2 separate regions of the Homo sapiens genome follow, and region 2 is linked to region 1. Evidence: promoter capture Hi-C in human tissues and cell types (Jung and others, 2019). All regions are on one chromosome and are shown on one strand. The core of a region is centred on a gene start or on the middle of the fragment in contact, and the rest is flanking DNA. Distances in the headings are between cores, read along the strand shown.

Evidence for each region. Contacts are between HindIII fragments. The study calls those that stand out against the background at their distance.
Region 2: a contact is called between a fragment that was not itself captured here and the fragment with the promoter of NGLY1 in region 1, in 1 of the 25 tissues and cell types used here (dorsolateral prefrontal cortex).

What each region holds. Positions count from the first base shown.
Region 1 is chr3:25,781,112-25,785,583 of GRCh38, forward strand. NGLY1 (N-glycanase 1) reads right to left here and starts at 2,332. Exons shown (of 12, transcript NM_018297.4): 1 at 2,149-2,332. The coding sequence starts at 2,279. RefSeq lists enhancers at 125-294, 1,682-1,761, 1,922-1,971 and a silencer at 2,282-2,521. The HindIII fragment of the contact is 13,519 bases long and covers 1-4,472 here.
Region 2 is chr3:24,006,781-24,011,252 of GRCh38, forward strand. No RefSeq gene overlaps it. Among named protein-coding and RNA genes, the nearest start is that of NR1D2, 64 kb to the left of the region's middle. The HindIII fragment of the contact is 4,726 bases long and covers 40-4,472 here.

The DNA of each region.
Region 1 (4,472 bases), core at 1,082-3,581:
GCTAATTTTTTAATTTTTTTGTAGAGACGGGGTTTAGCCATGTTGCCCAGGCTGGTCTCAAACTCCTAAGCTCAAGCAATCCGCCCACCTTGGCCTCCCACAGTGCTGGGGTTACAGGTGTGAGCCACCGTGCCCAGTGAGCAATTTTATTTTTATATCATCTCTGGACCTCACATTAATCTATTTTTCTCAGTAAAAGTATACTGCAAACAGGCTCCAGCAATGACAGTCACATCCAGTTCCTCAAATTCTTTTTCTTATTAAGTATGTTGAGTAAACTGACCGTGGTTTTGTGTATAGACTGATACCAAAGGCCTGACCCTAAAGCCCTCAAAGACTTAGAGGGCTGTAGGGACATTAGACTTCAAACCCATCATATCCTCTTTCCTATCCTTGGAAAAGCAACGCACAAAGACTTTCTTAAACTCTTAATTTCTCAGCATTATTCCAGTGTGTCCACTATCCTTTGCGCTCATTGTCACACCCCTCATCTTTCAGAATCTTGAAGCTGTGAGGCGGAGGTTGCAGTGAGTCAAGATCGCGCCACTGCACTCCAGCCTCATCAACAAGAGCAAACTCCGTCTCAAAAACGAAAATCAGCAACGAGCCATTAGTAAACATTCATAATGAAGATTATGATGCTAAATGTCATTATTTGCATGCAAAGGTTTCCCCCTCATACTAAACCTCAGCATTTTGGGTTTCACTAGATTTAAAGCAGAAGTGAGGCTTCATTACAAGGCCACCTCTCTTTTCTGACTAGTGGGGTTTTAAATAGCCTGGTGGCTTTCCAGGTGGTAAGTCTCAGCTAATGGGCTCTGGAGAACCCAGCCTATCAGTTCATTTATGGAGTCCCTTGGCATCCTTGTACTGTGAAGAGCTGTAAGGCCTCAAAGAGTAAAAAAGGTGAGTTGAGAAGGTGTCACAGAGCACGAAGGTGGTCCCCACACAGGTCACAATTATGTAGCTGTGAACAGGCCACATGTTGCATCTTTCATAGCATCTGCCACAAAATAAGGGCTCAATATATTTTCCCTTCAATTTACTTTAAAAATCATTACCATTGCCTAAATGAAATATTACTGACATGGATTTTAAAAACTGCACATGTAACTAATGTCTAAAATTGGGTCACGTGAAACCTATAACCTTGAAACTGAGAATTTCCTTTTAGACTTCATGACAATATACCAAACACTTAATGCACCAGGGGCTGAGGGGAACAGAGAACCTAATTAATCACGGTGACCTGATAAATGAGGTAACACCCCTAAAGCAAGTGGCTCTCCTTTAACCTCAGTTCCATTTCCCTACCCCCCCACACCATGTCCCTTCAGATCATTTGATCTGAAGAGTTGAGGTGGGTACTTATTCAAAATGAATAATCAAACTTGCCTCCCAATTCCCAAAATCTGCAAGGTCCCTTAGACCTCTAGAAGTGCAATTTTGCTGACAGGAGAATGAAGGAAATTACTCTCATCCAAGGCGATTACCTCCACGAATTCTTAAAGGGTTATGTTACATAGTAGAATCCAGGTATTAATATAAAAACTGTAACTTCAAAATACTATAATGTTTCAATCAACAAAAGTGGGCAGAAAAAAAATTAAAAATTTTAAAACCCACCACTTCAGAAGCATTATGCTTTAGTACTCGGATAGTCTCAACATGGGAAGAAAACATCACTTTGTCAGTGAGTAACTTCTGATAAGTATGTGGAAATGTAAGCCACTCCGCTCGAAAAATGCACGCAGGGGGAATGACACGCGCGGTGCGGTTACCGTTGTGTCCCGATATCTGAGGCCGTTAAACGACGAGAAGAGCGGCAGTGTCTGAAGCACGCCTTCCTACCTCTCCTCCGCCCGGCCCCGCTTCCGGGACTCCAGTTCACCCGCAGCACCCTGACTGCAGGTGCCAAGTCACAACTGCAAAGAAACTTCCTTTTCTCGAGCGGGGGTGGGACTTGGCCGGGTCCCGAGGCCCCTGGCCGGCGGGCTCGGACGTTAGGAGCAGAACCAGCTCCAGGTCCCGGTCTGTCCGGGCGTCGCTGCCCTCTGAAGCTCAGGCCGGACGCCCCAGTCCCTGGCCGAACAAGGTGCCGCGGCCCACCCACCCCGGTACCCGCCGTCCGACCCCGTTGCCCTGCACCTGAGGATGTTGTCAGCATAGGTGAGCAGCAGCTTGGAGGCCTCCAAAAAGGTCTCCGGGGTGTTCTGGCAGAGCTCAGCCACGGCCGGGGACGCCGAGCCTGAGGAGCTGCCCAATGCCGCCGCCGCCATGCTTGAGCGCCAGCGGGCGCCGCCGCCGCCCCTCGCTCTCCGCGTCCCACACTGAGCAGGCGCCTCAGCGCGCAGCAGCTACCGCAGCCACCGGCAGGGGCGGGGTCCTCGGCCGGCAGGGGCGGGGTCCTCGGCCGGCAGGGGCGGGGTCCTCGGCCGGCAGGGGCGGGGTCCTCGGCCGGCAGGGGCGGGGTCTTCGGCCGGCAGGGGCGGGGTCGGGGGCCTGGGGCGGGGTCGGGGACCGGGGCCAGGAGCGGGGGAGCTCGGCTGGGAGCTACGGCTGCCCCTTCGCGGGGGGCAAGGGGCTGTTCGGAAGAAGGTGGGGGGCCTCGGCCGGCAGGGGCGAGGTGCTTCGACCCAGAGTTGGGGCCTGGTCGTACAGGTTGGGAAGGGGTTCCGCAGGGAGAGGCGGGGCCTGGGCTCCGGGGCTGAGGGGTGTGGGCCTGGAGGAGGGGGATGTCGAGTCCTTTAGGACGGAGGAGCTCGGCTGGAGGGGAGGCCGGCTTTGGTCTAGAGGTATCGGGCGAATGGTGCTGGCACGTGCCTCTCAGAAACCCGGATCCCTTTGCGCTCCGGGGCCAGCCTAATTGATCCAGCTATTAAGGTGGAGAAACCGCATGTACCTCCCTCCTTTCCCCACAAATAAAACCACCTTAGAGCCTTCTCTTCGCAGATTGTCAGGACGTTCTACATAGATGTGGATGAAAGACTACAGAAGGAAGGAGCAACAAACGTCAAAAACAAAACCATGGCTATAAACTCTGCTGGGTTTGTTATATGGATTCTTTTCAGAATTTGGCTAATGACTGAAAATCTAAGTTCCAGCTCAACTAGTATATGATTCCTCTGTAAGGAAGTGTATTTTTAAACCATAGGTTGCGACATAATAATGGGTTGTGGATTCGGTTTACCGCGTGGTGACCAGCGTAAAACACATGCATAATAATTACGCAATATTATAGAATGTCGGGGGCGGGAAGGGAATAAAAATTTGCATCCCACACAGTAAGGGTAAGTAATATTTTGTGACTTGTTTTTTAGGTAGATCATGTGATCAAGGTCTTTTATTCCTCTTAGAAGATGCATCCCTTACTACTTTAATCCAGTCTCTTCCCCACCATGTTCTTGAAAGTGTACTTTACCAGTGGCTTCCTTCTTTGCAGAAATTCCTTTTCAACCTCACGAAGTATTTTTCTTGACTTTATTTCTTAAGATAAGTGATTTGCCTGAATAACCTCTTTTAAATTTCTTGATGTTTCATCTGTTTACTTTTAAGAATTGAAATTTTCTTCCAGAATCTCCGAACAAGACCCTAAGCTATGACATCCAGTTCAATGACTATTCGTCTCCCAAATATACGTACGCTTTTAATAAATATGTAAATCTTTGGACCACCTTCCAAGTATGGTGTGTTCAACAGATAGTAGTATGTTACTACCGTCTGTAACTAAAATTTTCAGGGGCTTAACACAAGAGTAATTTCTTTCTGGCTCATATAACACTTTAATAATGCAGGTGTCATAATGTCAGTGGACCCAGTCTCCTTCCATACCTTAGAACAGGGGTCAAGAAACATTTTCTGTAAAGGGCCACATAGTGTTTTAGGCTTTGTGAGCCATAAGGTCTGTCTCAACTATTTAACTCTGCCTCTGCAGCTGTTGCTCCACAGACAATACTTGAAAATAAATGGGCATGGTTATGTTCTAGTGAAATTTTATTTACAAATCCAGGCAGCCTGCTTGGACAAAAAAAAAAAAAAAAAAAAAAAAGTCACACCTACTTTTAACCACATGAGCCCAGAAATGACACACAGCATTTTCTCTACCATATCATTACTAAGAATGAGGCCTCATCAAGATAAAAGGGGGTATTTCAGTAAGGCCAGATTTACAAAAAATAAAAAAAAAATTTAAAAACACATAAAAAGATAAAAGGGGAGAGTCTGGGAAATGTAGTCTCGTCCAACTACACAATGGATTGGGGGCTTGGGTCTGGAGATATAGCTATCACAAACTTTATTCCTCTTAATTTGGGTTTCTTTTTCCATTGATACATTTATTTATCCTTTACTAATTATATGAGAATAGTATATATTATACAGTACTTGTAACTTTTAAAAATGCAACAGAACTTTTTTTTTTTTTTCAAATAAAATTTTAGGGGCTGGACATGGTGGCTCACGCCTGTAATCCC
Region 2 (4,472 bases), core at 1,153-3,652, 1.8 Mb before region 1:
ATTATGAAATTATATTGGGATTTTGATTTAGTTTGCTTTGATAATTTATGAATTAATTTGGGAAAGAAATGATTCCTTCACAAAAGTGAGCCTTCACATTCAAGGGCATGGAATGTTTTTCCCTTTATTCAGGCCACCTTTTGTGTTTGGGAGTGAATTTTTATAGTTTTATTCATATCAGTTTTGTACACTTTTTCAGGTGCATTCTCAGACATTTTATAATTTTTGTTGCTGTAATGAATGGAATTTTAAAAATTACAATTTCTGCTTGGGCACGGTGGCTTACACCTGTAGTTCTAGCACTTTGGGAGGATGAGGGAGGTGAATCACTTGAGCCCAAGAGTTCAAGACCAGCCTGGCAATATGGTGAAACCTCATCTCTACAAGAATTCAAAAATTTGCTTGGCATGGTTGTATGCACCTGTTGTCCTAGCTACTCGGGTGGCTGAAGTGGGAGGATTGCTTGAGCCCAGGAGGCAGAGGCTGCAGTGAGCCAGCCCGGGTGACAGAGTGAGACCCTGTCTAAAAATAATAAAATAAAATAAAATAGTACAATTTTTAATTGCTTATTAATGGTAAATAAGAATGTGCTTGTCTATTTTTTTCTTTTTTTTTTTTTGAGATAGGGTTTCGCTTTAGCAACCAGGCTGGAGTGCAGTGGCATGATCTTGGCTCACTGCAGCCTCTGTCCCTTGGGCTCAAGCTATCCTCCTGCCTTAGCCTCCCAAGTAGCTGGGATTACAGGTGTGCACCACCATGCCCAGCTAATTTTTGTATTTTTTGTAGAGACGGGGTCTCACCATGTTACCCAGGCTGGTCTCAAACTCCTGGACTCAAAGGATCCATCCACCTCAGCCTCCCAAAGTTCTGGGATTACAGGCATGAGCCACTACATCCAGCTTTTATGTTGTTTCATTTGTTCTGTTTGTTCTTTTGTCTGGCTAAACTGCCGAATTCTATTATTTTCATAGATTTTTAGTTGCTATGTTGGATTTTCTAGGTTGCTTTCTAGGGTGCCGCTTCTAGATTTTCTAGCATTGCTTCTTTATTTCTATGATTTATATCTTATATATTTTTTCTTGTCTTATTGTCTCTCGTATGCATCCATACAGTGTTTAACAATAGCAAGGATCATGGGAGCCAACCGCAGCACGTGGTTATTTCCTGAGGTCAGGAGACTTAGTGTGTATAATGGAGAGACACTGTCCCCTCCTCTTTACCCCTAGACTGCTTTCAGCTTCTCTGGTACCTTTTCCTTTTGTTACCATATCATTCATTTGCAGTTTGGCTTTTAGATGTTCCACCTTAGGTTACTATTTTCTTCCTTGTGCTTTGTATTATTTGAAATTTTCATTTCAAAGGAGAAAGGGAATCAAGTGTGAGCACTGAACTCTCCTCTTGAGACTTTGGCAGATCTATAATCTTATACAATTAGAATTTTTTTTTTTTTTTTAGACGGAGTCTCACTCTGTTGCCCAGGCTGGAGTGCAGTGGTGTGATCTCAGCTCACTGCAACCTCTGCCTCCTGGGTTCAAGCGATTCTCCTGCCTCAGCCTCCCGAGTAGCTGGGATTACAGGTGTGTGCCACCATGCCCAGCTAATTGTTTTTGTATTTTTAGTAGAGATAGGGTATTGCCATGTTGTTCAGACTGGTCTCGAACTCCTGACCTCAGGTGATCTGCCCACCTCAGCCTCCCAAAGTGCTGTGATTATAGGCATGAGCCACCGTGCGCAGCCTTTTTTTTTTTTTTTTTTTTGAGACTCTGTCACCCAGGCTGGAGTGCAGTGGTGTGATCTTGGCTCACTGCAACCTCCGCCTCCTGGGTTCAAGCGATTCTCCTGCCTCAGACTCCTGTGTAGCTGGGATTACAGGCGCCCGCCACCACACCCAGCTAATTTTTGTATTTTTAGTGGAGATGAGGTTTCACCATGTTACCCAGGCTGGTCTGGAACTCCTGGCCTTAAGCGATAGGCTCGCCTTGGCCTCCCAAAGTGCTAGGATTATAGGTGTGAGAGCCACCATGCCTGGCAGGCATTGCTTTTAATTGGCATTTCTCTGATTACTGCTGAGGTTGTGTCCCAATATGTTTATTGGGCATTTGTGTTTTGTCTTTGAAATTCCTATTTGTGTTTGTTGCCCATTTTTCTGTGGGTACTTTAAAAACCTTTATTGATTCTTTTTTTTTTTTTTTGAGAGAGAGAGTCTCGCCCTGTCTCCCAGGCTGGAGTGCAGTGGCGTGATCTCGGCTCACTGCAACCTCTGCCTCTCGGGTTCAAGGGATTCTCCTGCCTTAGCCTCTGGAGTATCTGGGACTACAGGCGCACACCACCATGCCTGGCTAATTTTTGTATTTTTAGCAGAGACAGGGTTTCACCATGTTGGCCAAGCTGGTCTCGAACTCCTGAGCTCAAGTGATCCACCTGCCTCGGCCTCCCAAAGTGCTGGGAATACAGGTGTGAGCCACTGCGCCCAGCCTTTTATTGATTCCTAGATATTCTTTATATATTCTGGATATTAATCCGCTGTCAGTAATATTAAATACCTGCTTTGTGCATTATCTTGTCATCCTTTTTTTCCACGAACATCTTAGTGTTTCGGATGGCAGTTTTCTGTTGCTGTGGTTTCATTATAAATCTGATTTCTCCCTAACTTCCAGGAATTCTTTAAGATTTCTGTTAACGATGCTGTTTATTTTTGCCAAGATTGTTATAAATGTTATTATTTAAAAATACGTTTTTTTCTGTCACTTTAAAGGTATTTGGGTTATGATAGAGAATAGCATTTGTGTTCACTTTGCCATCTTTATCCAGTTTTTGATATCTTTATTTAAATTAACAAGTAAAAATTATATATATTTATCATACACAACATGTTTGGAATATGTATATATTGTGGAATGGCTAAACCAAGCTAATTAACATGTACATTACCTCACATATTTATCATTTTTTTTTCTGGTGATGAGAACACTTTTTTTTGTGATAGTCAAGAATATAATACATTGTTATTAACTATAGTCACTATGTTGTACAGGGGATCTGTTGAATTTATTTCTCCTGTCTACCTAAAATTTTGTAACCTTGGACCAACATCCCCCCAATCCCCCTACAAACCCCACTGTTCTCCTCTCTACTTCTATGAATTCACCTTTTTCAGATTCCACGTATAAGTGAGATCATGTGGTGTTTGTCCTTCTTTGTTTGTCTTATTTCACTTAATGTAATGTCCTCCAGGTTCATCCATGTTATTGCAAATGACAGGATTTTCTTCTTTTTTAAAGGCTGAATAGTATTCCATTGTGCGTACTATTTACATTATCTTTATTCATTTGTCTGCTAATAGATAGGTTGATTTCCCATCTTGCCTATTGCGAATAGTGCTATAATGAACAGGGGAATGCAGATATTCCTTAAATACACTGATTTCATTTCCTTTGGGTATATACTCAGAATTAAGGTTGCTGGATCATGTGGCAATTATTTTTTAAAATAATTTTTTCTCTTCCTTCTCTAGAACCATTTCTGTATCTCTTTTTCCTCAGCTCCCTTTTTCCAAGCATCCAGCTAATCATCTTTAACCTGAAGTATTTGCTATTGTAGAAGTCCTATCTGATTTTGAGGTTACTCTCAGAGGTGAGGACTACATACTCCAGGAAGTTTTAAGCTGCCACATGGGGAAACATCTTGTTGCCCCCTCAGGAATTTCCAATGTGCTGCACTTAAAAAAAAATTACCATCAGACTTGCCTTCACACGTCAGCGAAGGCGTTTTATAGTTAACTGAATTTCCTGGTATACTCCAGGTTCAACCCAAACTGTTTACAAGCCAAAGCTTGCTGTTTAAAAGTCTTGCTGATATCCATTAGTTCATTTTCTTACCTTAGTGGGGCAAACTCATGAAAACATTTAAATCATAAAAAATACCCAGGAGGGCCGGGCGTGGTAGCTCATGCCTGTAATCCCAGCACTTTGGGAGGCCGAGGCGGGTGGATCCCTTGAGGTTAGGAGTTCAAGACCAGCCTGGCCAACATGGTGAAACCTTGTCTCTACTAAAAATACGAAAATTAGCCAGACATGGTGGTGCGCTCCTGTAGTCCCGGCTACTCGGGAGGCTGAGACAGGAGAATCACTTGAACCCAGGAGGACGAGGTTGCAGTGAGCCAAGATTGCACTCCAGCCTGAGTGACAGAGTGAGACTCCATCTCAAAAAACAAAACAAAATCAAGCCTGCAAGGGATTTTGCAGCTTCCATAACTTCTCTCACCAGTCACTTCTGCTTTTTTTTTTTTTTTTTTTTTTTTGAGGATCTAGGTTTGTCACCCAGGCTGGAGTGCAGTGGCCTGATCTCAGCTCACTGCAGCCTCGACCTCCTGGGCTCAAGTGATCCTCCCACCTTAGCCTCCCCAGCAGCTGGGACTACAAGCACGGGCACCCACGCTTGGCTAACTTTTGTATTTTTTGTAGAGACAGGGT